Regions from separate parts of the Homo sapiens genome. Here region 2 is linked to region 1. The links are contacts of gene promoters, found by promoter capture Hi-C in blood cells and fetal thymus (Javierre and others, 2016). All regions are on one chromosome and are shown on one strand. The core of a region is centred on a gene start or on the middle of the fragment in contact, and the rest is flanking DNA. Distances in the headings are between cores, read along the strand shown. Region 1 holds the start of SLC35F6 (solute carrier family 35 member F6). Region 2 overlaps CIB4 (calcium and integrin binding family member 4).

Region 1 (3,306 bases), core at 121-2,620:
GAACACTGTGACTGTCGTGTGCGTACACGTCTGTCTCCTCCACCTCAGATTCCAAGCATCTCAAAGGCAGAGATCGCCTCTTGGTCACTTCTGTCCCCTTCCCTTACACACCGTAGGTACCTTATACATGGGATCGTGCCATTGCACTCCAGCCTGGGCAACAAGAAAAGGAGGGGCAGGAAGGCCCTGCCCTGAGATGGAGACAGAGAGAGACAAAGAAATGCCATCCTGCCCACAACAGAGGGGAGGCTAGGCCCTGTCCCTCAGTCTCATGACTGCCTGGGTCCTTAGTCCCTAACCTCCTGGGAACTGTCCCCCCTCTCACCCCCATACATCAGAGCTGAACTGGCCACTTGCCCTCTCTGTCTGAGTTAATGGCACTTTTCTTCTCCCAGGCAGAAACCCTGGAGTGATCCTTGTTTCTTGCTCATGTGGGTCAGGCCTGTGGCCATTCACACCTGGTCTCTGCCACCAGTTGTCCCTTCCTTTCTCTTCTCACTGCCACCTCCTAGTTCCCCTCATCTGCTATGCAGCAGCCTTGGAGTGGTTTTTCCTGCACCAAACCACTCCTCATGTCATTGAGTCAATCATATCACTTTCAACATGTCATTCCCCAGCTCAAAAGCACTTTTCTGATTATGAGAGAAAATCTAACCTGGGCATTTGATGCTGGTTACAATCGACTTTGATCTGGCCTTTCCGTAGACTTTCCTTGACTTACAGTCTCAGACACATTCCGAAATCCCACCTAAGCTTCAAAGCACAGCTCTAACCCCTCATCCTTGAGGGGCCGTGGGGCACCTCCCTGTCTGCCGCTTGAGGCCTCCACGCTCACTGGGTCACTCGGCCTGCACAGCCACTACTGCGGCTCATGTGCACAAGTCCAGGGGTCTCTCCCAGCTCGTGGAGGGAGGTGCTCAGGCTTGGACGCCAGCACTGGAAGGGCCGTGGAAAGGAATCGGCCAACCCTCCTGTTAAAAGACGTGGAAACAGGAGCGGAGGCTGTACAGCAAATCAAAGCCGGGGCTCGGATCCCCCCGTCCGGGGCGCAGCCCCGCTCCGCATTTCCCCGGGCCTCGCATCCCTTGGGTGGTCATAACGCGCGCGAACTGACCGGAGCAAGTGGGAAAGCAGGGGAAGCCAGGAGGGCAGGGCCAAGAAGGGGGAAGGCGTAGAACGAGCGCCGGGGTCGCCAGGGCCCGCACGCCCGGCAGGGCCCAGACTCACTTTGCCGAGAGCGTGTTGATGGAGCCGGTAACAAGCATGAGCCCGGCCAGGAACAGCTGGTACTTGGTCCAGGCCATGTCGGCGGACGCTGGGGTTCGCTCCAGTTAGCGGCGCCGGGCCCCGTCACCCGGGGTCTCCTGCGCGAGCGCTTCCGGGCCGGGCGTCACGTGACCCCTCCTGCTCGCCCCGCCCCCGGGGAGCGCGCCTGAGCCACGGTGCCCGCGCTCTGCCGAGTCGTCCTGGAGCGCTTTGGTGGCCACGCCGTGGCCCTGGCAAATCACGGCCCAGGCCTTCCAGTTTTTTTTTTCTTTTCTTCCTCACTCTCCCCCGCCTTTTTGGGTTTCTTTTTTCTATTTTTTTGAGAAGGAGTCTCACTCTGTCGCCCAGGCTGGAGTGCAATGGCATGATCTCGGCTCACTGCAATATCCGCCTCCTGGGTTCAAGCGATTCTCCTGCTTCAGCCTCCCGAGTAGCTCGGATTACAGGCGCCCTTCACCACGCCCGGCTAATTTTTTGTATTTTTAGTAGAGACAGGGCTTCACCATGTTGGCCAGGCTGGTCTCGAACTCCCGACCTCAGGTGATCCGCCCTCCTCCGCATCCCAAAGTATTGGGATTACAGGCGTGAACCACCGCGCCTGGCCTTGGTTTCTTATTTTTATCTTTGGGTCTTCCTATTTGTAAAAGGGGCGGATGGGACAGTGCAGTGAGGGTGCATCGTGGCTATTACAGCATTTTGTGAATCGTTTTGAGAGGTTGAGCTGGGCGGTGTCAGAAAGGAGCCCTGAAGTGGGCCTGCCGGGAGTTCCTTGGGGACCCTGTAGAGAGGAGATTCCCACGCTGGACGTTTCCACTTCGGGGCTCCTATCTGATACCGCCCACCTTGGGCACAGTTCATATCTTTCAGCAAAGTGGCGAAGGCATCTAGCTCCAGTTGCCGAGGACACCATTTTATAGCTGAGGACAGTAAATTCAGCGAAGCAGAGTGATTTGCTTAAGAACCTGCTGGTGAGCAGTGGGGTAGGGATTTGCGCTTGGGTTCTCCAGTCTCCAAAAATCCGTGCCTTCCGCATGGCCTCTGCACCAAGCCCTGCTTCACTGCTCCTTTGTGGACTTTCTGGTCGCAGCTGAGGCATCCAGGCAGAAAGACCATCCCTAGGTTTGTTTGAAGAGGGTGTTGACGAAGAGTCACACTCTAAAATATTTGAAGGGATTTATTCTGAGCCAAATATTTGTGACCATGGCCCGTGACACAGCCCTCAGGAGGTCCTGAGAACATGTGCCCAAAGTGGTCGGGGCGCAGCATTTTAGAAAGACACGAGACATCAATCAAATACATTTAAGAAATACATTGGTTTGGTCCAGAAAGGTAGGACAACTCAAAGCCGGGAGGAGGGGAGAGGGTGGGGCAGGAAACGGGAAAAATATCTATCTATGTTAATAGAGATTTTTGTTTTTTTTTGAGACGGAGTCTTGCTCTGTCGCCCAGGCTGGAGTGCAGTGGTGCGATCTCGGCTCACTGCAACCTCCACCTCCCGGATTCAATCAGTTCTCTGCCTCAGCCTCCCAAGTAGCTGGGACTACAGGTGCCTGCCACCACGCCTGGCTAAATTTTGTATTTCTAGTAGAGATGGGGGGGGTCTCACCATGTTGGCCAGGCTGGTCTTGAACTCCTGATCCACCTGCCTCGGCCTCCCAAAGTGCTGGGATTACAGGCGTGATCCGCCACGCCCGGCCGGTAATAGAGATTCTTTACAGATGCAAATTTTCCCCCACAAAAGACAGATTTGCAGGGCCATTTCAAGATATGGCAAAGAAAAATGTTTTGGGGTAAAATCTTTTGACTTTCTTCTTAGTCACATAATATTATGCCAGAGTCAGATTGGAAAGTAAGTCATGATATATAGGGTTAAATAAAACCCATCTGATGAGAATTTATGGTTTGTAGGGCATGACTCTCCAGACCTCTTAGGTAGGAATTTGGGCAAGGTAAAAAAAATCAGAGCTTAGTCCTCAAGGGGTTCTGGTGTTTAAAATCCTACTCTTGGCTGGGTGTGGTGGTTCACACCTATAATCCTAG
Region 2 (3,499 bases), core at 187-2,686, 150 kb after region 1:
GGAGATAAGTTATCTCTGGAGATGATTGGAGCACCTACTGCCCTGGCCCCTGTTGATGCAGAACCTCCCCCTTGTCCCATACTCTGTAAACTGCCCCAGGGCTTAAGCCACCCCACCTTCAGGAAAGTCGTCACGGGGAGCAGCTGGCAGGGCTCTTGTGGATTGAGGACAGCTTCCTTCTGTGCATATGCAGTGCCTCGCTTGGCCAGCTGCTCCTGCTCTCTGTCTCTGGGCAAATGGCCTCCTGGAAGAGGAAGAATCACCGAGAAAAGGGAAGGCTCCCAGCAGGGCCAGGCAGTTGGCAGTGGTCCCACTTCTTGAGTCCCTTCCTCCTTAGAGAGGCCTCCGAGCCACCAGGGACCCTGGGAGGGGAGGGAGGCCAGGGAACCACTGTGCTTTTTCAGGCTTTCACGCCCAGAAAGTAGAAGCAGCACTGGGGCCAACAAGGCTCTTAGAACCCTGTAGAATAATCCACAAAAATGTCCACTGCATCCTAGTTACCCATCTTTGGCTCCATATTTTGGAAAGAATATGGAAAGGTACAGACATAGATGCTCTAAGACTCAAAGATGGTGCGATGAGCTGGGGCCATCTTCCACTGAACTTCCGTTCTTATTGAGCTCTGAGCTGAATAGGATTCCTGTCTCCTGCCAGGCCTTACAGGAGAAGAGTGCACATCAGCCCCTCACTGGGTCTGGGAGCCAGGAGTTCAGCTCTGCCTGGGTTCAGCCCTTGCCCTGCAGAGAGTGAAGCAGAAGAGAGAAGCAAAAGCTCCTGCCTCCAACCCCCTGGGAAGGAAAGTTGTTTTGCTTGCTTAGCAAATTGTCTCTGGAGTGCACTTTCTTTTTTAATTTGCTTTTTATTTATTGTTAACGTAGTATGACACCAATAAAATAAAATTTTAAGAAATCAATTCCTTAGCATCCAACGACCCTAACATAAATTTTCATTTTCTATTTTCTTTTGCCGTCTTTTCCCCTAGGCAAGCTTTATTTTATAATATCGTAGACATACATAGATACAATTTTATTCTGTGCTCTTTTCCATTAGGCATAAATGCTTTTTCTTGTTGCTACATAGTCTGTGTAATTATCATTTTGATGGCGCATAATTGCATTGAGTTCTGATTTACTAAACCATCTCCTCATGGCTGGACATTAACATTCTTTCCAGGGGTTTATTTATTTATTTGTTACTATAAATAATTTTGTAATAAACACCCTCATCTATTATTTTTCTCATTTTTTGAATTTTTTTTAGTTTAGACATCCAGGTTCTCCTTGGAGGTTTTAGATGGATAGAACTGTCCACTCCAAGAATTTGAACTACGCAATCATTAAAATGATAATTATACTGAGTATGTAGCAACATGGAAAAACCTTTATGCCTCATAGGGGAAACTGCACAAAATAAGAAACCTGGGCTTTGGAATATCCTTAACCCAAATCAGTGATAAAAGATGGAGCCCTGTGACACATCACTAGAGACCTCCCTCTAAGTTGACATGACTCCATAAAGGTCTCTTCGCATGTGGTTTTTCAATAGGCAGCTCTACCCTGTGTTATCATACAATCCATTCTCTCCATCCTCCCACGGACAGTATTATGTGAGAACTTCCCAGATGGACTGTGCTGACAGGCGCCACAGCAGTGCTGGCCCTGCAGCCCGAAGGCTAGGTTGCATCTCCTGCTGAGTGTGCAGTGGATCCTAGCCCCAAGTCTCCTCCACCTGCACTGCTGCCCAGAGGGTGCCATCCTGGAGGGAGAGATGCAGAAGTTCTCATCACTCCTGTGACAGGTCATCAGTTCATCTGGCCACCCCAGCAAATGCAGGGATTCACGGGGCATTTTCCACTTCTCCCCTTGCTCTTGCAGGAGCAAGCTTGTTCCTGGACTCTCAGCCTGGGCTTGTTTGCTAGCCCGGGAGTATGACACCCATGTGTATTTTTTCCATTGCAATGCAGCGTTTTCCTGGAAAACATTCCAGGGAAGGAGCTCAGGTTTGAGGGTCACACAGACCTGGGATCAAATTCCTGCCTTTCCTCTTATTTGGTTAAGTAATTTAACCTCCTCACCCCTCAGTTTTCTTAATCTATACAATGGACTTACTGCTATTGACTGCTTGGTTTCTTGTAAGGGATTAATGGACAAATAGATGTGAATTTGGCTGACACAGCACCTGATATACAGTAAATATTTAACAAGCACCAGTTTCCTGCCTTCCTTTCTGCCCTTCTTGGACCCGAGGGAAGGTATAGATAAGGTGTGGTGCCCAGAGGTCTGGGTACTTAATAAATGCCAAGGTAAATCATGGCTGGCTGGCAGAGCCCTTAGCAGGCAAGGGCAGCCTGATACTATTGGGGCAAAGTCCCCAGGATACAGGAGAGAGAAGAACAGAAAGCTGGGGGTTTCAAAAATCCAATAGTCCAAAATGTCAAGGACTGAAACATTAAAAGGCCTTTGAGTTGCTTAGGTTTAGACTCCGTTGTTTAAAGAGTCACTGAGCGTGGGGCAGTGGGTGGGCAGGGGGAGAGGCGGCTATTGGTGAGAGGAGGCTGCAGTGCGAGTCCATTTCTGTTTATATCAGTGGATTCAAAGTGAGGGACAAAATAGATCAATTGTTGCTTAGATGTGTTTGATAAAAGAGGAACTGTTATCTTGATGCAAAGATCTACAGCCTGCAGAGTTCACAGGGAACATGGTTCCCAGCGTGCCCTGTGCTGGGTGTCCCCAAACAGCTGCAAAGCAGCCCTGACACCATCTGAGAACCTCTGGCGGCTTACAAACAGGAAGGCTGCTTGTAAACAGTAGGCCGGAACCAGGAGGGTCGTGGAGGCACAGCGGGGCCCTGCCACTCCAAGCGGAACCCAGCCTGCTCCCACGAGAAGCAGAGGAGCGAATGTTCTAGGCAGTTTTCTAAGCTTCCGCTGCCTGGTCTGCCCTTGAGTGGGTGACTTCATCCTGTTAGTTACAGTCTCTTGCTTTGAACTAACTGCCTGTAAAGTACAGGTACAGATTGTGTTTTAAAGGGTTTTCATATTGGTTGTTCGGAACTTTGTTTGTGTTTTCCGTGGGAAAACGTATAAACTGTGTTTAAGTTCCCAGCCTGAGCCACAAGCATTGAAGCTACTCATAGTACAACAGCATTAAAATTGAGAAAATAACCTTGCGCCCAGACCTGGAGCCCTGTTGCGCCTGGGACCTTCCCGCCCTGAAAAATGGAGTTGAAATGGCTGTGAAATCCCTTCCCTCCTCCTCTCTGGCCCAAGAGCGTATGCGGTCCTCCCCTATCTTTCTGTTCTTTTGTCTGGGGTGGGAGTGAGGTTCACAAGAAGAGGGGCTCCTACATCTTCCTTCTGTTCCCTCTGCCTCCGTCTCCTGCATGTCTGCTTCGCTTCACATTCACCCAGACAAAACTCTCGGCCTCTTCACTGACATCTGCAAAAATTCCACTCATGTCAAGCACTGTGTGAATTTCGGTCAGCACCACTGAAGGCTGG

The links. The method cuts DNA at HindIII sites, captures the fragments that hold promoters and counts their contacts. A CHiCAGO score of 5 or more calls a contact.
Region 2: a contact is called between a fragment that was not itself captured here and the fragment with the promoter of SLC35F6 in region 1, in 4 of 17 cell types (M0 macrophages, M2 macrophages, M1 macrophages and 1 more). The highest score is 7.6, in M0 macrophages.

Annotation. Positions count from the first base shown.
Region 1 is chr2:26,762,348-26,765,653 of GRCh38, reverse strand. It overlaps SLC35F6 (solute carrier family 35 member F6), which reads right to left and starts at 1,370. Exons shown (of 6, transcript NM_017877.4): 1 at 1,228-1,370. The coding sequence starts at 1,304. RefSeq lists a silencer at 1,194-1,503 and an enhancer at 1,514-1,713. The HindIII fragment of the contact is 6,262 bases long and covers 756-3,306 here.
Region 2 is chr2:26,609,399-26,612,897 of GRCh38, reverse strand. The region is part of intron 3 of CIB4 (calcium and integrin binding family member 4); the gene reads left to right. Among named protein-coding and RNA genes, the nearest start is that of CIB4, 30 kb to the left of the region's middle. The HindIII fragment of the contact is 894 bases long and covers 990-1,883 here.